Regions from separate parts of the Homo sapiens genome. Here regions 2, 3 and 4 are each linked to region 1. Evidence: promoter capture Hi-C in 16 types of primary human blood cells and fetal thymus (Javierre and others, 2016). All regions are on one chromosome and are shown on one strand. The core of a region is centred on a gene start or on the middle of the fragment in contact, and the rest is flanking DNA. Distances in the headings are between cores, read along the strand shown. Region 1 holds the start of ASH1L-AS1 (ASH1L antisense RNA 1). Region 2 overlaps ASH1L (ASH1 like histone lysine methyltransferase). Region 3 overlaps ASH1L (ASH1 like histone lysine methyltransferase). Region 4 overlaps ASH1L (ASH1 like histone lysine methyltransferase).

The links. The method cuts DNA at HindIII sites, captures the fragments that hold promoters and counts their contacts. A CHiCAGO score of 5 or more calls a contact.
Region 2: a contact is called between a fragment that was not itself captured here and the fragment with the promoter of ASH1L-AS1 in region 1, in 2 of 17 cell types (M0 macrophages and erythroblasts). The highest score is 5.2, in M0 macrophages.
Region 3: a contact is called between a fragment that was not itself captured here and the fragment with the promoter of ASH1L-AS1 in region 1, in 2 of 17 cell types (M1 macrophages and erythroblasts). The highest score is 5.8, in M1 macrophages.
Region 4: a contact is called between a fragment that was not itself captured here and the fragment with the promoter of ASH1L-AS1 in region 1, in 1 of 17 cell types (M1 macrophages). The highest score is 6.3, in M1 macrophages.

The regions. Positions count from the first base shown.
Region 1 is chr1:155,558,529-155,564,499 of GRCh38, reverse strand. It overlaps ASH1L-AS1 (ASH1L antisense RNA 1), which reads right to left and starts at 2,458. Exons shown (of 2, transcript NR_147964.1): 1 at 2,214-2,458; 2 at 556-1,250. ASH1L (ASH1 like histone lysine methyltransferase) reads left to right here and starts at 1,697. Exons shown (of 28, transcript NM_018489.3): 1 at 1,697-2,347. It also overlaps a transcript of MSTO1 not described here. RefSeq lists silencers at 188-482, 1,567-1,706, 1,757-1,906, 3,628-3,922 and an enhancer at 1,111-1,678. The HindIII fragment of the contact is 29,470 bases long and covers 1-5,971 here.
Region 2 is chr1:155,373,066-155,379,036 of GRCh38, reverse strand. It overlaps ASH1L (ASH1 like histone lysine methyltransferase), which reads left to right. Exons shown (of 28, transcript NM_018489.3): 9 at 489-534; 10 at 648-756. Among named protein-coding and RNA genes, the nearest start is that of MIR555, 30 kb to the right of the region's middle. The HindIII fragment of the contact is 8,414 bases long and covers 1-5,971 here.
Region 3 is chr1:155,409,274-155,415,244 of GRCh38, reverse strand. All of the region lies in intron 6 of ASH1L (ASH1 like histone lysine methyltransferase), which reads left to right. Among named protein-coding and RNA genes, the nearest start is that of MIR555, 66 kb to the right of the region's middle. The HindIII fragment of the contact is 1,990 bases long and covers 1,320-3,309 here.
Region 4 is chr1:155,429,320-155,435,290 of GRCh38, reverse strand. All of the region lies in intron 5 of ASH1L (ASH1 like histone lysine methyltransferase), which reads left to right. It also overlaps the pseudogene POU5F1P4. Among named protein-coding and RNA genes, the nearest start is that of MIR555, 86 kb to the right of the region's middle. The HindIII fragment of the contact is 890 bases long and covers 2,224-3,113 here.

The sequences.
Region 1 (5,971 bases), core at 1,209-3,708:
TCCCTCAGATGGAGTTTCGCTCTTGTTGCCCAGGCTGGAGTGCAATGGCACCATCTCGGCTCACTGCAATCTCCGCCTCCCAGGTTCAAGCGATTCTCCTGCCTCAGTCTCCTGAGTAGCTGGGATTACAGGCGTCCACCACCACGCCTGGCTAATTTTTGTATTTTTAGTAGAGACGGGATTTTGCCATGTTGGCCAGGCTGGTCTCGAACTCCTGACCTCAGGTCATCCGCCCACCTTGGCCTCCCAAAGCGCTGGGATTACAAGCGTTAGCCACCGCGCCCGGCCTTGCATGGGCTTTTGAACAGTCATTTCTGAATTACTTCCTGGATCCCCAGGAGTCCACAAATGTGAAGGAAAGGGAAACCCAAGTAGATCCTTCCGGTAATTTATTCTGCTTTACCCTTTAGGTAAAGGTAAAAACTACTAGATCAAGTAAACTTTGGAATTATTTGTGGACTTTAATCGTCCGTATTTCTGCTGCATTCAATTATCAAATATCAGTCAAGTGTTTTGAGAAACAAATATTCAGTAGCCACAGAAACCTAACAGGCCTATGTTTGCTTTGTTTTATTAACTCCTTGGAGGGACAGAACACTACCAATTACACCCACAAACGTTATCGACATCAACAGAACTGTAAATGACAACACGGCAATATTCTGCACTTTCCCTATGCCTAGGAGCTAATTCCACTTTACATATATTATCTTATTATTTCACACATTAACCCTGGAGGCATGTTTGGAGTTGCCTAATTTTTATGTACACTTTTTGATAAGGAACTAACAAAAATAACTTGCTGAAGGAAGAAAAGGGAGACTAAGTCCAGAACTGAATGAAAAGCACATGGTTTCTTCATCCTCCATCACCAGGCTGTCTAACGAGGCTGAAGAAGTACCATCCATGAGTAAGTGCGTCAAGGGCAAACAAACATCATCGCATATGGACAGTGGTGTGAAATTCGAGAAATCCGAGGAGGGTTAACAACAACAAAAAGCACACCACCACGCCGATCTTCCTCGGGTCCCAGGTTGGCAACTCAACGCCCGGGAGGAATCCCCCCGGAGGCGCGCCGGTCCTACTGGCCTCACTCCCTACCTCCTGGAGGTCCGGAGTCCCGCTCCTTTCCCTCAGCGGTACAATACCCGTGTCGGTCCATTCCCTCACCGTGAGTCGAGGACTAGTTCTCCTGACTAGGCGACCGGCACACACCGCCTGCGACCAGCTCCACAGCAGCGGTCCTGCTACTGCGAAGTAGGCTCAGGTCAACCGGCAGGAAACGACTCAACGCGCAGCCGCCGCGGCCTCCAACCACCGGTGGGCAGAGGGGCGCTAGGCAGTCCTCGATCCGCTCGCCGCGATCCGGCGGAGGAGGAGGAGCAGAGGGAGGCGAGCCGCAGCGCTGCGGCGAGGAGCCCAGGGAGGTAGGTTGTCGTGGGGCTCGGTCCGCCATTCTGGCAATTCCAGTCAAACGGCAAGCCCCGACCCGCTCGGCCCGTCCCTTCCTCTCCTGCCCCTGCAGCCGACAGGAATGGAACAGTCCCGCGGGGGGGATTGTGGGAGGCGCACGCGCGAGGGGTGGAGGGTGGTAGGGGGGGCTGGCGGCGGCGGCGGCGGCCGTGGCGGCGGTTGGTGGCCGTGGGGGCGGGGAAGGGGGGGGAGGAGAGAAGAGGAGGTGGAGGAGGAGGAGGAGGAGGCTTGGGCTTGCGCCGTTGAAGGTACGCGTGAGGGCCTGCGCCGGCGCCGGCTTGACAGGGCCTGAGGGGTAGTGAGGGACTGGACGAGGGGGTTCCTGTGGGTGAGCGCGTACGGGCTGGCTGGCGCGCGGGGCGGCCGAAGGTGGTGGTTGGTGGGAGCAGCCAGCGACGAGCCCGTAGACACTCGTACGCGTGCGGGCGGGCGTGCGCGCTACGCGGACGGAGTCGGGCGGAGCGGGGGACGGTGGGAAAGAACGCAAGGAGGAAGGAGTGGAAGGTTGAGGGGGGCGCTAGGCGCCCTTCGCTCCCTCCCTCTGGAGGAGCTGCCGCCGCCACCGCCGCCACTCTGCTGCTGCCGCCGCCGCCGCCGCCGCTCCCGCCGCCATTTTGGGTTCGCTTTGCGGAGGGGAGACGATCCCAGTCTCGGTTGCGGGACCCGCCTCCCCTCAGTTTGCCCCCTTTAGCCTTCCACCTTTCCCTTCTCCTCTCTCGCATTTCCGCCAGTCAGCTTACCCGCTGGCCGCCTCCTGACAAGCGGGAGGGATCCGCCGTGGACCCAGGGAAGCGGAGGAGCCTGGCGGCCACCCCCTCTTCCCCACTTCCCTGCACTCTCATCGCTCTCGGCCTCGGCCTCGGCCTCCGACACGGTGAGTAGAACGATTTGGGCCGGCATTCGGGCCTAAGCACTCTCTCAGCGATTGAATCCTGGGCTTTCTGGGAGCCACTGTCATCTCCCGGACCTGGATCTCTGAGAGAGCAGTGGTGAAGATGGGGGAGGGGAGAGCAGGGAGGGGGATCCTGAGCCTACCGGGAAGTCCCTCCAGGCGGGGTGAAGGGGTGTCCCTGACAGGCAGACTCCCGGAGGGGGCTGGGAAGTAAGCGAGTGGAGGCGGAGTCGGCTGTGCCCCTGACAGGTTAGTTTGTGTTTGTAGGCATGATCGGAGCCTCCCCCATAGTCCAGTTTGTGTGTGTTTAATTAAGGGATAAGAGTGGTCGAGGACACGATCTTGAGAGGGGATTTTACCTGTGTGACAAGGTCTGTGGTGTCCCTGCCGCGTTGAACGGTATGTGGGAACGACAGGATGATCTCAGTGTTGTAAGTTTAATAAATGTCACTGGTTAGTTTGTACATGGAAAGAGATGTTTTTGGTCTAGCAGACAGATGGTCTGTTGGTGTGTAGCGGCTGTGTTGGTGTGTGTATGTGAGGATGGCAAGTGTTTCCGTAAGAGTTTGCCTTTATTTGTGTAAGTGTAATGGAGTTCCCCTTATAAGTTAGCTTATTTCTTGAATAAATGTTGGGAGGTTCCTTGCAGGTTGATATGTGTGTGTATTTTAGGGATTGGGAGCCCCTAGTTACTTGTTGGGAAAGAGCGGCAATGGTAGTGTTCTGTACAGCATGTGTCTGTGAGGTCAGGGAGGGGAGAAACTTGGCATAGCCAGTTGTGGTCTTAAGAATAGTTTGTGCCTTTGGTTAGAGTGAGTTGTGTAAATGTGAAGGGCCAAAATATCTTTAACAGAATCATTACTACAAAGTTGTAAAGAATGGGTGGCCTTATTTGTTGTCGCGGGTTTATAGTAATAGTTTACAATACAATAAGAAAGCTCTTTCAGTTTTTTTGTGATACTGAATCTCTGTGAAAATGGTAGGATGCTTTCTTCCATTTTACAAAATAGGAAATTTAGGCATAAGGAGAGAACTTCTCCAAGGCCGCATGTTAAATTGGTGACAAAGTTGGAACTGTAACTCCCATATTTTCACTACTACTGCAGCAGTATATTCAGCATACCATGGTGCCTCAGGAAGTCTTTGTCGGCAAATCTGAGTATGCTGGAAAGATAGGAGCACATAAGACTGGTTGGCTTGTATTTGGGGGAGACCGATTGTGTCAGATATGTATGTGGAACGTAGCTGTCCTTGCCGAGTCTGACCTGTATGAAATGCATATCCATGACTATATTATTTTGGATTTATGGAGGAAGCAGAGCATTTCTGACACTTGAGGTTGTATGTGTGAGGGAGAGAAGGCTTTCACAGCTTAACTTGTACCAGAGCAGCTGCATGGGTGCTGACAGCTTAACTTGAAATCTGTGGGAGGAAGGATCCTTTTTCATTCATTCAACAAATATTTGTTGACTGCCTGTTCAATAAATGGTCCATGCCTTGGCGTGAGGATAATCAAGGTGTCTCTGTAAATAGCCTGGGTACAACGTGAGGGGAGTTGTTTTGACAGTGGTGGGTATTAAGTTGAGGGAGGCGGTGTGGAATTAAAACCAGAGAACTGTTTTTGGGTTCTGGTAATTGTTAATACATGTGCCTGTGGATGTTGGAACTTCTTGGCTGGGCTGAAGGAATCCTTTGAAAGACTCATTTCATATAGTAAGAATCCCCTCTATGAATATGAAGAAAGAATGCATAAACTAAGCCACTTAACCGTATTCTTCTGAAAAATGGGATGTTTCTTGATAGGCTAGATGAGTGGTTCTTAAAATTTTTTGGGGTCACTTATCCTTTTGAGAATCTGATGAAAGACACTGGGCCCTCAAGTTAGAAGATGAGCATAAGCACAATCACATGATTTATATATATGATTTTAGGAACTTAAAATGTAATAAAATAGAGCCAATTTATATTTAGGTCTCATTTGAAAACCTTTCATTTTCATTGTTCGGGTGTGTGGATGTTAGTATGAGTTTAAGATGAAAGAGTCTATGGTATTTGAACATGTTGACAGGAGAACTTTAGGGTCCATGTTTTTTATTCTTTTTATCATCTGCAAACTTATTTCTGCAGTATTAGTAAAGGACTCTGAATTTGGTGATAAGGGAATATAATATAGCACAAGTATCTATGGCTTTGTTCTTTGTCAGTATCTTTTTGTTCCTAAACTCTGAGAAGTGGGTTTGTCTTTTTTCAGTTTTGGATTGGGCCTGAGGTGATTTGAAGCTCCTGTCTTGGAGTTTAGCTTAGTTATAACAAACACTGAGTTAATCCTATGCAGGAGACACAAAAATCAATAATATATGGTCTCTGTGCTTGAAGAGATGCTAATTCAGTTGAGTCTGAATTGTTTGATGGTGGCAGCTCTCAAAAGGACAAGGAAGAGGGAAACATTCCTAGAAGTTGAAATTTTGTTACCCAATTGCAAAGAGATTTTTGCCACTACTTACTCTTTGAATAAGCATAAAGTGTTTATACTCTGTATGCAGCTTTGTACTTTAAAAAAATATGTTTTGTATCATCTTGTGCTTTTTTTTTTTTTTTTTGAGACTGAGTTTCACTCTTGTTAACAGGCTGGAGTGCAGTGGCGCTATCTCAATTCACTGCAACCTCTGCCTCCTGGGTTCAAGTGACTCTCCTGCCTCAGCCTCCCGAGTAGCTGGGATTACAGGCATGTGCCACCATGCCCTGCTAATTTTGTATTTTTAGTAGAGACAGCGTTTCTCCATGTTGGTCAGGCTGGTCTGGAACTCCTGACAGATGATCCACCCGCCTCGGCCTCCCAAAGTGCTGAGATTACAGGGGTGAGCCACCGCGCCCGGCCTCATCTGGTGTTTTTGTATAAAGGAACTATTGGTTTGAGAAGAAGGCAAACATTTATATTTCTTACCTTCTTTTGGGATATATTTCTACAGTGCGTTTATGTAAAAAGGTTTTGATGTCGCTGGGCATGGTGGCTCTCACTTGTAATCACTTTGGGATGCTGAAGAGGGTGGCTCACCAGAGGTCAGGAGTTTGAGACCAGCCTGGCCAACGTGGCAAAACCCCGTCTCTACTAAAAGTACAAAAATTAGCCAGGCATGGTGTGTGTGCCGGTAGTCCCAGCCAGTTGGGATGCTGAGGCAGGAGGATCTCTTGAATCCCTGAAGTGGAGGTTGCAGTGAGCCGAGATCCACCACTGTACGCCAGCCTGGACGACAGAGTGACTCTCTCAAAAAAAAAAAAAAAAGAAAAGAAAAAGGGGCCTAGGGCCTGGCATAGTGGGTTATCCCTATGATCCCAGTGCTTTGGGAGGCTGAGCCAGGAGGATCACTTGTGCCCAGGAGTTTGATACCAGCCTGGCCAACATAGGAAGACCCCATTTCTACAGAAAGTTAAAAAATTAGAATGAACACCTGCAGTCCTAGCTACTCTGGAGGCTGAGACAGGGGAATTACTTGACCCAGGAGTTGGAAGCTGCTGTGAGCTATGGTGGTGCTACTGCACTCCAGCCTGGGCAATAGCGTGAAACACTGTCTCTTTAAAAAAAGGAAAAGGATTTTCATGTTCTAC
Region 2 (5,971 bases), core at 1,610-4,109, 190 kb after region 1:
TATTCACTAAATTAATTGCCTTAATTAAAATTTGAAATGTTTTCCTATAATTCTCAACCTGAAAAGCCAGGGTACTCATCTTTTTAATTTCATGTACCCACCCAGACATCTAAGTAAGTCCTATGCATGTTGTTTTCCTTTCTTTTGATAGAAGCAAATAGAATCTTAATTTGTCCAAATGAATAGCTTTGGTCTCCAGTGTGATTTTCATTTAAGTCTATCCAACAACATGCTGAAGAAACATGTAATTCCACTTGTATAAACTATTTAGTGCTTCTTCTGTTGAATCTTATTCTCTCACCTTTTATTTCAGAGTAAAAAGAGATCACACCAAGAGTTTCCCTCAAATGTATCCAACCCAAAATGTCTTGTAAATATTTCCAGATGAGCAGAGCACATAGAAAATTTCCTGTATTTTTAGTGATTGATGCTGCCGTCTGGCATTTGAAGTTAAATGCTATATCAAGATTTTTCTTCTTTTCTTCTAGCTATACAAAAAGCCAGATGTCCCACTATATAAGAAAATTCGTTCAAGTGAGTAACTTAGGAGCTATTTTTTCTGCCTCTATACGTTAATGTTCTTCTGAGCCTAGCACTTGAAAAATTATCCTGTATGTTCACAAACTATTCTTTGCTTTCTTTTCAAGATGTCTACGTTGATGTCAAACCCCTTTCTGGTTACGAAGCTACCACCTGTAACTGTAAGAAGCCAGATGATGACACCAGGAAGGGCTGTGTTGATGACTGCCTCAATAGGTACTGTCATGCTTTGATTTCTCTAAAGCATAGGCTTTAAGGTATACATACAACACTTCCTTTGGAGGGTACAGTTAAATAGGCTCTTTGATTTTTTTCAAGAAGTTGCACAAAGATATATAAACCATAATGGGTGGGCGGAATACAGAAACAGAAAATGAATGAGATTTAGAGTCTTGTGTGTGCCTTCGTTGGTTTAAATCCTTTTACTTTTTTTTTGTTTGTTTTTTTTGTTTTGTTTTGTTTTGTTTTTTTTTTGAGACGGAGTCTCCCTCTGTCGCCCAGGCTGGAGTGCAGTGGCGCGATCTCGGCTCACTGCAAGCTCCGCCTCCCGGGTTCACACCATTCTCCTGCCTCAGCCTCCCTGGTAGCCAGCACTGCAGGCACCCACCACCACACCCAGCTAATTTTTTTTGTATTTTTAGTAGAGATGGGATTTCACCGTATTAGCCAGGATGATCTCAATCTGACCTCGTGATCCACCAGCCTCGGCCTCCCAAAGTGCTGGGATTACAGGCGTGAGCCACCGCGCCCAGCCAATCCTTTTACTATTTATGAGACCTGAGAAAAGTTATTTAATGCATCTAATAAAAGTAATACCTTACCTTCTCTATGGAGGGTTTGTGGAGATTATATGAGACTGTTGATAAACAATGTTTGTGAAGTTTTGGCTTTCTTGTTTTGGGGTTTTTGTTTTGTTTTGTTTTGTTTTTTTTAGAGATAGGGTCTCACTGTGTTGCCCAGGCTGGATTCAAACTCCTGGGCTCAAGTAGTCCTCCTACCTCAACCTCCTGAGTAGCTGGAACTATAGGTATGTGATACTGTGCCCAGCTCATAAAACATTAAGCACAGTCCTAGGTACCTTCCTAGCTCTCAATATATGGTTGCCACAATGAGGAAGCAGAATAGGACAGTGGCAGTGAGAGTGAAGAGGAAGGGCATAATATATTTTAGAAGAAAAGTATGTTGATAAACCATCGGCATATAGGGGATATGCTCTTCATATGGGGATATATTCTCTCTCTGAAAATAAAGTGTGGAATCTAACTGAATTGGAGATAAGAATTATGAATTTGGCTGGCATGGTGGCTCATGCCTATAATCCAAGCACTTTGGGAGGCTGAGGCAGGCAGGTCACCTGAGGTCGGGAGTTCAAGACCAGCCTGACCAACATGGAGAAACCCCATCTCTACTAAAAATACAGAATTAGCCGGGCATGGTGGCTCATGCCTATAATCCCAGCTACGTGGGAGGCTGAGGCAGGAAAATTGCTTGAACCTGGGAGGCAGAGGTTGCAGTGAGCCAAGGTCCTGCCATTGCACTCCAGCCTGGGCAACAAGAGGGAAACTCCATCTCCCCCCCAAAAAAAAAGAATTATGAGTTATGACTTTGATTTGAGTCTGTAATTTTTTTTTTTTCTTTTTCTGAGATGGAGTCTAGCTCTGTTACCCAGGCTGGAGTGCAGTGGCGCGATCTTGGCTCACTGCAACCTCTGCCTCCCGGGTTCAAGAGATTCTCCTGCCTCAGCCTCCCAAGTAGCTGGGATTACAGGTGCCCCCCACCATGCCTGGCTAATTTTTGTATTTTTTTAATTTATTTTTTTGAGACAGAGTCGCGCTCTGTCGCCAGGCTGGAGTGCGGTGGCACGATCTCAGCTCACTGCAACCTCCACTTCCCAGGTTCAAGTGATTCTCCTACCTCAGCCTCCCGAGTAGCTGGGACTACAGGCATGAGCCACCACACCTGGCCAAGAGAGTATATAATTTTAAACGGCACTGAAATTTCAAAATAGAAATGTCTAATAGACAAAGGAGTGGATATAGAATTTGTTGTTTTAGTAACAATGCACATGTGCAGCAAAATAAAAAAGAATCAGTGAATTTTACATCAGTATTTCCTGTTCTGGATAGTTCTCATGGCCAAAAGTAGCTTCTTTGATCTCTAGTCAGCTGTCCATGTGGTCTGAAGGGAATCAATGTTTTAGTTCTTCCTGCTTCAGCATGCCAGTTGGGAAATTCTACCTTACCTGCATCACTGTAAATTCACACCTTATCATTTTATGTACATACAGGTTCACATAGTGTTTTGCATACTGATTTTCTTTACTCACAAATATTTTAAATGCACACTTTTATTAAACAGTGTGGTCCACAAGCTCAGTATTTTTATTTATTTATGACACAGGATATCACTCTGTTGCCCAGGCTGGAGTGCAGTGTCGCCATCACAGCTCACTACAACTTCTACCTTCCGGACTCAAGCAATCCTCCCATGTTAGCCTCCTGAGTAGCTGAGACTAAAGACGCGTGTCACCACGCCTGGCTAATTTATTTATTTTATTTATTTTTAAAGTAGAGACGGGATCTCGATACTTAGCCGAGGCCGGTCCTGAACCCTTAAATCTCACTATATGAAGGACAACCTAGATCTACGTTTAGTAGCTGGCTGGGGTGCGACTGTCTCATTTTTCTTTTTTTTTTTTGAGACGAAGTTTCATTCTCGTTGCCCAGGCTGGAGTGCAATGGCACAATCTCAGCTCACTGCAGCCTCCACCTCCCGGGTTCAAGCGATTCTCCTGCCTCATCCTTCATCCTTGCGAGTAGCTGGGATTTACAGGCACCTGCCACTGCACCCGGCTAATAATTTTTGTATTTTTAGTAGAGACAGGGTTTTGCCATGTTGACCACGCTGGTCTCGAACTCCTGACCTCAGGTGATCCTCTTGCCTCAGCCTCCCAAAGTGCTGGGATTACAGGTGTGAGCCACTGCATCCAGCCCAACTCTCGTTTTTCAAGGGCATTATCTGGCTAAAGATAATGACAAATTGTACTAAATCAAAGACCTCACATTGTAGTTTACAGCATCTAATTTCAGATTTTGGTAAATTTAGTTTGGTTTCCAGACACAACAAATAGAAACATGTTTTGGTTTTATATAATTTAAGGACTTATTCTGGTTGTCAAAACAAATGGGGAATATATTTCAATGCCTTGAACTCTAGAAACTACAAATTTTCAGTAACCTCTGAATGATTGTTCCCTGGAAGAAATCTTTTAAAATTTAAATCTCTCTTATCTGAGCACTCTTTTATTTATACTTCAGGGTTTTTTTAAATCCGGATGCAGTTTATAGTATGTGTTATTAGGTATTATGAAAATACTTGGTGCCAGCCAAGCACAGTGGCTCACGTCTGTAATCCCAACACTTTGGGAGGCTGAGGTAGGCAGATCACTTGAGGTCAGGAGTTTGAGACCAGCCTGGGCAACATGGCAAAACCCCACCTCTACAAAAAATACAAAAGTTAGCAGGCATAGTGGTGCATGCCTGCAGTCCCAGCTACTTGGGAGGCTGAGGTGGGAGGATCGCTTGAGCCTGGAGGTTGAGGCTACAGTAAGCTGTGATCACGCCACTGTACTCCAGGCTGGGTGACAGAGTGAGACCCTGTGTCAAAAAAAGAAAAGAAGAAAATATAGGTGTGGAATATTATGAACTAGAGGTTACATTTGAAGCCATGATTATAGATCAGCTCTCTAGAAAAAGGAATATGGTAGAGGAAAAAAGGATTTCTACCAGAAAAGACAGGAATTGGTATTGGCAAGGTGGGAAATCCAGTATCATAAAAAATGAGGAAAGCCAAAAAAGGAAGGCATTTCAAGAGGGGTATTCAATAATATTCATGTACCAAAGAAGTCAGCAAACGGAAGAGTAAAGGTGGTTGAATTTGATGTTAAGGCACTGTCTTCTTTACAGCTGAAGCTGATTATCTTAAATTGAAGAATAATCCAGTCGATACTTTCTCTGCTCCTATTTACATGATTTGACACTGTGTGCCGTGTGCCCTTTAGAATCGTGGTGGTATTTTTGTTTAGAGTAAGTCAGATTACTCTGAAAGTACTTTAAGGTATAAACTGTTATATATTTTCTTTACAAAACTTTTCACTTTTTTTTTTCCTTTTTTTGAGACAGTCTCGCTCTGTCACCCAGGCTGGAGTGCAGTGGCACCATCTCGGCTCACTGCAGCCTCTGCCTCCCAGGTTCAAGCGATTCTCCTACCTCCGCCTCCCAAGTAGCTGGGATTACAGTTGCCACCACGCCTGGCTAATTTTTGTATTTTTAATAGAGACGAGGTTTCGCCGTGTTGGCCAGGCTGATCTCGAACTCCTGACCTCACGTGATCCTCCCGCCTCTGCCCCCCAAAGTGCTGGGATTACAGGCATGAGCCACCGTGCCCGGCCTTTAAAATTATTATTATAAATATAACATGATATTTTGACGATTATTTTCTTGATCATTCCTTGTTTTAGTCATGCTTAAGGCCAGGCATGTTGGCTTACGCCTGTAATCCAGCATTTTGGAAGGCCAGGGTGGGCGGATCACTTGAGTCCAGGAGTTTGTGACCAGCCTGGGCAACATGGAAAAACCCCATCTTTACTAAAAATACAAAACATCAACTGGGCATGGTGGCGTGTGCCTATAGTCCCAGCTATTCTGGAGGCTGAGGTGAGAAAATCACCTGAGCCCAGGAGGTCGAGGCTGCAGTGAGCCAAGATCATGCCACTGCACTCCAGCCTGGGCAACCAGAATGAGACCCTGTATCCAAAAAACAAACCAAAAAATAATGCTTAACAGCCTAGATGAGATTTCAAACCATACACCAAAACTAAACAGCTCCCATTAAAACAGCCAGGTGCATTGGCTCACAAAATGCTGTAATCCCTAGCATTTTGGGAGGCCGATGAGGGAGGATCCCATGACCCCCAGGAATTTGAGACCAGCCTAAGCAACATAGCAGCAAGACCTCACCTCTACAAATAATTTTTTTTTTAAGTAGTCAGATGCGGTGGTGCGCGCCTGTGTTCCCAGCTACCCAGGAAGCTGAGGTGGGAGAATTGCTTGAGCCCAGGTGGTCAGAGCTGCAGCGAGCCATTATTGTGCCACTGTACTTCAACCTGGGTGACAGAGCGAGACCCTGTCTCCAAAAAAAAAGTAAAGAAAGCAGTGACAAGATGTGTGTGACTTCTTTTGTCTTCTATGTTCAGTTTTTTTTTGTTTTTTTTTTGTTTTTTTTTTAGACAGAGCCTCACTCTTTTGCCCAGGCTGGAGTACAGTGGTGCAATCTCAGCTCACGGCAACGTCCGCCGGACAAGTTCAAGCAATTCTCCTGTCTCAGCCTCCCGAGTAGCTGGGACTATAGGCACATACCACCACGCCCAGCT
Region 3 (5,971 bases), core at 1,065-3,564, 150 kb after region 1:
CGCCCAGCTAATTTTGTGTATTTTTAGTAGAGACGGGGTTTCACCATGTTAGCCAGGATGGTCTAGATCTCCTGACCTCGTGATCCACCTGCCTCGGCCTCCCAAAGTGCTGGGATTACAGGCGTGAACCACCGTGCCTGGCCCTAATGATGCTTTTCTTATTAACTTAAGCAATAAATGGCTCTGTGTAACTAAAATGATATTGGTGACTTCATTTTTTATATTGGTGACTTCATTTTTCACTGATTGGACGCTGTGTTCCATGAGCTTTGTCAGATGAATAAAATATTTGCCTTGCTTTTAAGAACTTTGTATTATCTTGGCAGAGTACAATTTAATAAGCACTCTAATTGAGAATTTTTAAAGCATCAAAGGGATAGCAAATTATCATCAATTAAGAAATATTTTCTGGTTGAGTTAGGATTTAGAGGTGTGGTAGTAGTTTACCAGATGGAGAAGGATATTCCAGTCAGAACAGCATGTAAAAAGGATACAAAGATTTTTCATATATCAAAACAACTTGAAAGTTTAGGGCTTCTGAAATGTAGTGGCCCTGTGGTAAATAAGCATTATATGATGAGGAACATATAACCATGGACTTTGAGATATTTAGTTAACTTTAAGATATTTGGTTTTGGATGGGAGTGGTGGCTCACACCTATAATCCCAACACTTTGGGAGGCCAGGGCGGGTGGATCACCTGAGGTTGGGAGTTTGAGACCAGCCTGACCAACATGGAGAAACCCCGTTTCTACTAAAAATACAAAATTAGCCGAGTGTGGTGGCACATGCCTGTAATCCCAGCTACTTGGGAGGCTGAGGCAGGAGAATCGCTTGAACCTGGGAGGCGGAGGTTGCAGTGAGCCGAGATCGAGCCATTGACTCCAGCCTGGGCAGCAAGAGCGAAACTCCATCTCAAAAAAAAAAGAAATTTTTTTAATGCTATTTTGCTATAGGAAATAAAAAATGAGTTTGGGGGATGGATGTGAAAGGTATAGGTTTGTTTAAGATAACTCCAGCAGCAGGGTGGAAAATAAATGGAATGAATTACTAGTGGCAAAAACTCTCACCTCACAGTTTCTGTCAAAAAGTCATGAATATCTGAATTTAGACAAAGAGAAGAATAAGATTGAAAGAGGAAACCTTAGATTTTAGAGGTACATCTCGTTTGGTGGTGTTAAAGTAATTGACATGTAAACCATACCACTTTATTTTGCATTTAAAAGATTTTTATTGATTTGTCACTGAGGTAGATATCACAAAATTTTTATACTCTGAACGTGCTTCTTAGGTCATGAAAACATTTTACTAATGAAGCTTAAGTTTAGCTAATTATAATAATAAATCATCTCAAATAACCAAGACTTTAAAAAGATAGGCACTTAACTATTTTTTTTAATTTAAGAGAAGTTGTGAAGTATGTAGTTCAAAGTTCATAATGGTACCTTCACAATGTCTTCAGGGACCTAGGCTCCTTTTTCTCCCTTCTATCTCAGCACTAATTATGCATTCCTAAGATTCCCTCATGTTCCAAGATAGTTACTAGAGTCCAGCCATTTGATGTTTGTTACAGACAGAAAAGAGGAGGAAAAGCATGCTCCTTCTTTGTTTTTTGTTTTCTGGTTTGTTTGTTTGTTGCGATGGAGTTTCACTCTTGTTGCCCAGGCTGGAGTGCAATGGCACGATCTCGGCTCACTGCAACCTCTGCCTTCTGGGTTCAAGCGATTCTCCTGCCTCAGCCTCCCAAGTAGCTGGGATTACAGGCACCCACCACCGTGCCCAGCTAATTGTTTGTAATTTTAGTAGAGATGGGCTTTCACCATGTTGGCCAGACTGGTCTTGAATTCCTGACCTCAGGTGATCCGCCCTCCTCTGCCTCCCAGAGTGCTAGGATTACAGGCGTGAGCCACCATGCCTGGCCCATGCTCCTTCTTTGTAAGAAAATTTCAAACCCGCATTTATATAAATTGGCTAGAATTTAAATTGCATAGCCACACTTTAGCCATAAGACAGGTTGCGGAAATAATGGTCATTACTCTAGGTGTTAATAGCTGTTAAGGAAAAAAAAAATCAACATTCTGTCAGTAGAAATGAGAAAGTAGAAATACACTTTGGGACACATCTAATTCAGTCATAATTTTGGAACAGAGTCTGCTAAATAGAGCAGAAATATAATTATCAACTTTTCTGCTAAATAAAATTCAAGTTTTATTTCTTGCTTAGGGAGAACCTCTCAGACTGTGTTTTTCCTCTGCTGTCACATCACAATAATCATCAACAAAGAAGTCTGTAAGAGCAAACTGCTGGTTTAAAAAAAACCATTTTTTTCAATAAAATTAAAAAAAAAAAAAACACACAGAAGACTTCTGTAACCAAAGGTATGAGGGTTTTCCCATACACCAAGCAATAGGCAGCAGCTGGGTGTCCTCAATTCAATTCTGTCACTGTTTTCCTGGATATAGGGTCAGATCCTATAGGTTGGGTGCTCAGTTCCCAAGACCGCCACCCTCCCTTTAGACCAGTCACAACTCTGGCTCTCTAGAACTTCTGACCAACCAGCTTCAAGTTGGGGTTTCCACAATCCCCCCTTTGGGTTTGATTAATTTGCTAGAATGGCTCACAAAACTCAAGGAAACATGTACTTCCATTTACTGGTTTGTTATAAAGGATATTACAGACGCTATAGATGAAGACATATACTGGGGAAGGAGCATAGAGCTTTCATTCCCTCCTTGGGCGCACTACCCTCCAGGAACCTCCACATGTTCAGCTATCCAGAAACTCTCTGAACCTTTCTTTTTGAGTTTTGTTTTTTGTGGTTTTGTTTGTTTTTTTGAGATGGGGTTTCGCTCTTGTCAACCAGGCTGGAGTGCAATGGTATGATCTTGGCTCACTGCAGGCTCTGCCTCCTAGGTTCAAGTGATTCTCCTGCCTCAGCCTCCAGAGTAGCTGGGATTACAGGCACCTGTCACCACACCCAGCTAAATTTTTTTTTTTTTTTTTGAGACGGAGTCGTGCTCTGTTGCCCAAGCTGGGGTGCAGTGGCAAGATCTTGGCTCACTGCAACCTCCACCTCCTGGGTTCAAGCAGTTCTCCTACCTCAGCCTCCTGAGTAGCTGGGACTACAGGCACACACCGCCATGCCCAGCCAATTTTTTGTATTTTAGTAGAGACGGGGTTTCACCATGTTGCCCAGTCTGGTTGCGAAATCCTGAGCTCAGGCAGTCCGCCCACCTCAGCCTCCCAAAGTGCTGGGATTACAGGAGTGAGCCACAGCGCCCGGCCTCTTTTTGAGTTTTTATGGAAGCTTCATAGGCGTCAATGACAGCCATGTAGAAATGTGATTGAACAAAATGTAGAGGATGTAAACCCAGCATGTCCTGTCTAGACTTCTTGGCCTCTCTGTGTCACATTCCTTTCTCTAGGGTATGGGGCAGGACCCTCTCTGGAGTGAGGGTTTTCTTGGCCCAGAATCAGATTAGAGTCCTGCCTTAGGTAGGTGAAAGGAAGACAGGAGAAGGTCAAAGAGAGATTCTATCTCCTGAGGCCCACTCCTGAGACTTAAAGTGCCCCAACATTATAACAGGGACTATGGGAGTTAAGAGCCAGGAACCATGGATGAAAACATATATATATATATATATATATATATATATATTTATTTATTTATTTATATTCATATTTATATTTATATATATCATAAGACCACACTTCTGTTTTTTACTTTTGTGCTTTTTCTTGATTAAAGATTTAAAAATGGAAGATTCTGATCTTTTGATGTAATTTGATTTCACATCAAATTATACAACCGTATCAGTGATTTGTAAGTGTCTCTGGTCATACAAAAGATTTGACCTGAAAATGGACTGAAATATCACTTTATGTATGTTAGAACTAGCTCTTCCTCTCCCAAAAATAAGTAGGAAGAAAATGGTTTATTCTTTAAGCATTTTTAAGAACATTGATCAGTTTAGTACATGTATGCATTCTTGAAAGATGTGAAGCCAGGATATTATTGTGGGCTGGCTATTTTGTTGTTAGCAGTTTCATTAATAAACTTATGTTTAGAGCAGTTTCAGTTTCACAGCAAAATTGAGTGGAAAGTACAGAGTTTTCATATACACCCTGTTCTTCATACACACAACCTGCCCACTGTTACACCACACCATTGTGATACATGTGTTATGATCCATGTACCTACATTGATATACCATTATTACCCAAAGTCCGTAGTTACTTTAGGGTTCACTCTTGGTGAAATACATTCTATGGGTTTTGACAAATGTATACTGACATGTATCTACTATTGTAATATCATACAATAGAATAAAAATAAAGGGGCCAGGTGCGATTGCTCACGCCTGTAATCCCAGCACTTTAGGCCGCTGGAGCTGGAGGATTGCTTGAGCCCAGGAGTTCAAGACCAACCTGGGCAACATAGCAAGACCTTGTCTCTACTAAAAATTTAAGAATTCAGGCCAGACGCAGTGGCTCAGGCCTGTAATCCTGTATATCATTCTTGGTGATATACATTCTATGGGTTTCGACAAATGTATACTGACATGTATCTACTGTTGTAATATCATACAACAGAATAAAAATAAAGGCCAGGTGCGATTGCTCACGCCTGTAATCCCAGCACTTTAGGCGGCTGGAGCTGGAGGATTGCTTGAGGCCACTTTGGAAGGCAAGGCAGGCAGACTACTTGAGGTCAGGAGTTCAAGACCAGTCAGGCCAACATGACACAACCCTGTCTCTGCTAAAAATACAAAAATTAGCTGGGCGCAGTGGCAGGCACCTGTAATCCCAGCTCCTTGGGAGGCTGAGGCAGAAGAATCCTTTGACCTCCGGAGGCAGAGGTTGCAGTGAGCCGAGATCGCACCATTGCACTCCAGCCTGGGTGACAGAGCAAAACTCTGTCTCAGAAATAAATAAGTAAATAAAATAAAAATCCAGCAGGTGTGGTGGCGCACAGCTGTAGTCCCAGCTGCTTGTGAGACTGAAGTGAGCAGATCACTTGAGTCCAGGGGTCCGAGGCTGCAGTGAGTTGTGTTCATGACATTACATTCCAGCCTAAGTGACAAAGCGTTTTTTTTGAAACCCTGTCTCAGAAAAAGAAAGAGAAAATAATACGAACTTTTTTTTTTTTGAGATGGAGTTCAAGCAATTCTCCTGCCTCAGCCTCCCGAGTAGCTGAGATTACAGGTGCCCACCACCACGCCTGGCTAATTTTTGTATTTTTAGCAGAGACGGGGTTTCACATATTGGCCAGGCTGGTCTCAAACTCCTGACCTCAAGTGATCTGCCCGCCCCAGCTTCCCAAAGTGCTGGGATTACAGGTCTGAGCCACCACGCCTGGCCAAGATCGACCATTTTTTAAGAACTCAGGCTTTTGTTGTCTTTTAGAATGCCCTTCATTTTGGATTTCTTTGATCCTATCTTCATGATTAAATTTAGGTTTAAAAAAATCTTGGCAGAGGCCTGGGAAAGATGGCTTATGCCTGTAATCTCAACATTTTGGGAGGCTGAGGCTGGAGGATCACTTGAGGCCTGGAGTTCAAGACCAGCCTGGGCAACATAGTGAGATCCAGTCTCTACAAAAATAAAAATAAATAAAACTTAATAAAATTTAAAAATCATGGCAGGAATATTGCATATGTGATACTTTATACTTCTTTTTGCATCCCACTTATTGTCCCAGCATTGATGGTGCCATTTTTGATTACTTAGTGAAGGTGGTATCCACCAAGTCTTTTCATTGCAAAGATACTACATTTTTTCCCATTGTAATTGGTACATAAACCATGGGTTGATATTTAAGGCTATGGCTTGTTCTCTATCAGTCTTTTTTAATCTAACATTTAATCATCCATTAATGTTTTTTCCCTAAGTTTAATAATTACATTGATGGTTGAAAAATGACAATTTTTGCTGGGTGTGGTTGCTCATCCCTGTAATCCGAGAACTGTAG
Region 4 (5,971 bases), core at 1,419-3,918, 130 kb after region 1:
ATGTAATACTGAATATTAGCTATGAGTTAGAGGTTTAATTTTCTTTCAGTACTATTGATTAGTTTAGCCATTCCCAACTTATTTGGAATGATACATTTATCATACACTAAGTTTTTGTTGTTGCTGTTGTTGTTATTGTTTTTGAGACCGAGTCACCCAGGCTGGAATGCAGTGGCGCAATCTTGGCTCACTGCAACCTCTGTCTCCTGGGTTCAAGTGATTCTCATGCCTCAGCCACCCAAGTAGCTGGGATTACAAGCATGCGCCACCATGCCCAGCTAATTTTTGTATTTTTAGTAGAGACGGGGTTTCCCCATGTTGGCCAGGCTGGTCTTGAACTCCTGACCTCAAGTGATCCGCCTGCCTTGGCCTCCCAAAGTACTGTGATTACAGGCATGACTCACCACACCCAGCACTAAATTCTTTTTTTCTTTTTTTTTGAGACGGAGTCTCGCTCTGTCGCCCAGGCTGGTATACAGTGGCACAATCTCGGCTCACTGCAACCTCTGCCTCCCAGGTTCAAGTGATTCTCCTCCTGAGTAGCTGGGATTACAGGCGCACACCACCACACCACCATGCCTGGCTAATTTTTTTGTATTTTTAGTAGAGACGGGTTTTTACCATATTGGTCAGGCTGGTCTCAAACTCCTGACCTGATGATCCTCCCGCCTCGGCCTCCCGAAGTGCTGGGATTACAGGTGTGAGCTACGGCGCCCCACCATCCTAAATTCTTATATACTGTTAGATCTTAGGGTCTTTTCAATTTTTTTTTTTTTTTTTTTTTTTTACTGTGTCCCAGGCTTAAGAAAAAAGTGATACATGATGTGGGATTAAAATCAAGAACATCATTGAACTTCACCTTCCCTCCAACCAGTTGCCCCAAACTCCCCTGCCCCCACCCTTTGTGTTCCCAATTCCTTCCTTAGTGAATGAAGAACTTAATTCCAAAAGCCCTGGCACAAACTCCAGGTTCTCTTTCCCTAGCTCCTCCCCTCCCCCTGTCCCCCATTCCTAGAAGGGCAGGCACCTCAGTTTGAATGCATGGGAGAGCCCAGGGTGGTGACGGAGACGGGGGAAAGGCTTCCCCCTCAGGGAAAGGGACCGAGGAGTACAGTGCAGTGAAGTGAGGGCTCCCATAGCCTGGGGTACCAAAATGGGGCCCTGGGGCCAGAGGAAAGGATACTGGTACCCCTGAGAAAGGAGACCCAGCAGCCTCAAAATCCTCTCGTTATGCATAGTCGCTGCTTGATTGCTTGCCTTTCTGGCACCGGTTACAGAACCACACTCGGACCACATCCTTCTCGAGCCCAAGCTGCTGGGCGATGTGGCTGATCTGCTGCAGTGTGGGTTTCGGGCACTGCAGGAACAAATTCTCCAGGTTGCCTCTCACTCGGTTCTCGATACTGGTTCGCTTTCTCTTTCGAGCCTGCAAGAGGGTTTCTGCTTTGCATGTCTCCTGAAGATTTTCATTGTTGTCAGCTTCCTCCACCCACTTCTGCAGCAAGGGCCGCAGCTTACACATGTTCTTGAAGCTAAGCTGCAGACCCTCAAAGCGGCAGATGGTCGTTTGGCTGAACACCTTCCCAAATAGAACCCCCAGGGTGAGCCCCACATCGGCCTGTGTATATCCCAGGGTGATCCTCTTCTGCTTCAGGAGCTTGGCAAATTGTTCGAGTTCTTTCTGCAGAGCTTTGATGTTCTGGGACTCCTGCGGGTTTTGCTCCAGCTTCTCCTTCTCCAGTTTCACGGCACCAGGGGGGACGGTGCAGGGCTCCAGGGAGGTGCCATCGGAGTTGCTCTCCACCCTGACTCCTGCTTCGCCCTCAGGCTGAGAGGTCTCCAAGCCGCCTTGGGGCACTAGCCGCACTCCAACCTGAGGCCCACAGTACGCCATCCCCCCACAGAACTCATACAGCGGGGGGCATGGGGGAATCCCCCACACCTCAGAGCCTGACCCAACTCCCGGCCCGATTCCTGGCCCTCCAGGAGGGCCTTGGAAGCTTAGCCAGGTCCGAGGATCAACCCAGCCCGGCTCCGGCCCCCCTGGCCCATCACCTCCACCGCCTGGAGGGGGCAAGAAGGCAGGCATCCGAAGCCAGGTGTCCCGCCATGGGGAAGGAAGGCGCCCCAAGCTGGGGGCCTGGTGAAATGTCAAATATTTTTATATTCCTTTCTATCAGTCTATTTTGGTATCTCTGTCATAGCAGTTTAATTATTGAAGCTTTAAAACACTGACAAGGAGGATGATTTCTGCCTTTACTGTAGTTTGAGACATCTTGACCATTTATGTTAGGAAGGGTCATCTTTAAAATGTGCTTCAAGAAAAGGCTTTCATCAGCCTGGGTAACATGGTGAAACCCCGTCTTTACCAAAAAATACAATAAATTAGCTGGGCGTGGTGGTGTTGCACGCCTGTGGTCCCAGCTACTTGGGAGGCTGAGGTGGGGGGATCGCTTGAGCCAGGGAAGCAGAGGTTGCAGTGAGCCTAGATTGTACCACTGCACTCCAACCTGGATGACAGAGTAAGACTTCGTCTCAACAACGACAAAAAAGGCTTTTGAATAGGTTAGCCTTTCTATTCCAGCAAATTCTAGTATCATGGTCAGCAAAATTAAACACATACTTTTTCACAAGATTGTATTCTGAGATTTGAAGAGATTATAAAGAGAAAGATAAAATTTCTGCCCTCAAGAGATTGTGTAGGGAAGGACATGACACACTGAGTTCCCAGAGATAGCAACAGTTTTTCAACTTGTTCTAATTGGAGCTTACACTAGTACTTGTTATATAATATGTATTCATTTATTTTTTCAATTAGTATTTGTTGGAAGATTATTATGTTTCATGTACTTAGAATTGATAGAGTGGTGAATAAATCTAGAAACTTTTCCTACCTTCATGGATTTTAACCATCCAAGTGCTATTATGAAGAGTTACTTAGAGTTATAAGAGTACTGTATATAATAGAAATAACTAACTTAGTTTCCCAGAAAAAGTAAGGACTATGCTAAAAATGTGAAGAATAGGCTTCATCTGTTATTTAAAGGAGTGAGGAGAGAGCATACACAAAAGTCTGAAAAAGCATGATAGTTTCAGGCAAGCGAAAGAAAGCTTTTGTGGTCAAAACATGGAGTAGAGTAGCATGGGATACAGATAGAGGTTGTAGGGATCAGATTGTGCCAAGAACCTTGTATGATATATTAAAGATTTTGGTCACTATTTGTTGATTAATATAAAACCAGAATGCACAGGAAGAATTTAATGGTTATGAGGTGGGCTTCTAGACTCGGAAAACCTAGGTTCAAATCCTGGTTTTAAAAAGAAAAAGGTATATTTTTAAAACACTTATAAATTTTTGCTGTAAAAAATAAAATCAGGCCAGGTGTGGTGGCTCACACCTGTAATCCCAGCAGTTTGTCAGGCTGAGGCAGGAGGATCACTTGAGGCCAGGAGTTCAAGACAGCCTGAGCAGTGTGGCTGGTTGTAGCTACCGTTTCTACAAAGAACTGTTTGTTTGTTTGTTTATTTTAGACAGGGTCTTGCTGCGTCCCCCAGGCTGGACTACAGTGGCACAATCTCAGTTCACTGCAACCTCCACCTCCCGGGCTCAAGCGTCTCCACCCCCATCCCTCCCCCACAGTGGCTGGGACTGCAGGCGGGGGCCACCAGGCCTGGCTAATTTTTGTGTTTTTTGTAGAGATGGGGTCTCACTATGTTACCCAGGCTGGTTTTGAACTCCTGCACTCAAGCGATCCTCTCAACTTGACCTCCCAAAGTGCTAAGATTACAGGTGTGAGCACCGCACCTGGTCCATCTCTACAAAACATTTAAAAATTAAATGAGCGTGGTGGCTCGTGTCTGTGGTTCTAGCTACTTGGGAGGCTGAGGTGGGAGGATCACTTGCACTCAGGAGGTTGAGGCTGCAATGAGCTGTGTTCCTTCACTGCACTCCAGCCTTGGTGACAGAGTGTGACCTTGCCTCTAAAAATACATATATATTATAGCAAGACTTTGTCTCTAAAAATATGTATCTTATAATGTATATTATATGTAAATATTATATATATATATATTTTTGTTGTTGTTGAGACGGCATCTTGCTCTGTTGCCCAGGCTGGAGTACAATGGCTTGGCTCACTGCAACCTCCACCTCTTGGGTTCTAGCGATTTTCCTGCCTCAGCCTCTGGAGTAGCTGGGATTACAGGTCCTGCCACCATGCCCGGCTAATTTTTGCATTTTTAGTAGAGACAGGGTTTCACCATATAGGCCAGGGTGGTCTCGAACTCCTGACCTCAAGTCTGCCCACCTTGGCCTCCCAAAGTGCTGGGATTACAGGCGTGAGCTACCACACCTGACCGAAAAAAATTGTTAAGAGCTTGCTGGCCACACCAATAGTCTCAGCTACTCTGGAGGCTGAGGCTGGAGGATTGGTTGAACCCAGGAGTTTGAGACCAGCTTGGGCAATGGCAAAACCCTATTTCTAAAAACAATTTTATGAAAATAAGAAATTAAAAGAACAAGTGAATGAGCCTGAAAATGATATTGGAAGAATGTAAAACATACACCTTAAGTTAATAAAATAAGGCAAATGTATAACAGTAAGAGTCACTTTTAAGACCAAAGTTCTTTGAAAACTAATAAAATAGACAAACTTCTGGTAAAGCCGATCAATAGGAATGAGAAAGGGAATAAATAGGGATTTAAAAGGAAATAAAGTGTATATAAGAGATTAAAAATTTACTACTGTGAGAACTTTAAGCCCATCAAATGGGAAAACTGTTGAAATGGACATGTTCCTAGAAAAATACAATTTTAACAAAACATACTCAAAAGAAATTACCTGAGCACTCCTATTGCCTAAATTGAATCTATTATTTAAAGTCTTGCCCCAAGAACAGCATCAGACCCAATTTTAACTTCTACCACACTTTCAAGAAAAATATTATTCCCATCTCATTAAAGAGAATATGGGCTGCAAACAGAAGAGGATACATCTAAAGAGAATACATAAACAGGCCAGATGAGGTGGCTCACACCTGTAGTCCCAGCATTTTGGGAGGCAGAGGCAGGAGTATTGCTGGAGCCCAGGGGTTGAAGACCACCCTGGGCAACATAGGGAAACTCCATCTCTACAAAAAACTTAAAAATCAGCCAAGTGTGGTGGCGCATGCCTGTAATCCCAGCTACTCGGGAGGCTGAGGCAGGAGAATTGCTTGAACCTGGCAGGCGGAGGTTGCAGTGAGCTGAGATCGCATCAGTGCGCTCCAGCCTGGGCGACAGAGTGAGACTCTGTCTCAAAAAAAAAAAAACTTAAAAATCAGCTGGACGTGCTGATGTGTGCCTGTAGTCCCAGCTACTAGGGAGGCTGAGGTGTTAAGGGATTGCTTGAGCTTGTCCAGGAGGTCGAGGCTACAGTGAGCCATAATCGTGCCACCACATTCCATCCTGGGTGACAAAGCGAGAACCTGTCTTAAAAAACAAATAAGAGACAAACAAGAGAATACATAACATAAGCTAAGTAAATTTTCTGTAGAGGTCGTACCCATATAAATATTCAGGAGGTGACCATACTTTCCCTGTTTGTAAACCCCTTTTCTTGCCAGAAGCTATAACCAATCTTCTGACTTTTAAGGTAACCACATATTTACCTTTTAAAATACTATTTATGTGTGCAGCTCTAAACAATACAGCTTATTCTTCCTGAATTTCATGTAAATCTAATTATACAGGTTGGGTGCCATATCATGCCTGTAATTTCAGCAATTTTGGAAGCCGAGGCGTGTGGATCGCTTGAACCCAGGAGTTTGAGAGTAGCCTAGGCAACATCGTCTCTACTAAGAATACAAAAAGTTAGCCAGTTGTGGTAGCACACGCCTGTAGTCCTAGCTACTCAGGAAGCCAAGTGGGAGAATCACTTGAGCCCAGGAGGTAGAGATTGCAGTGAGCCAAGATCACATCACTGCAATCCAC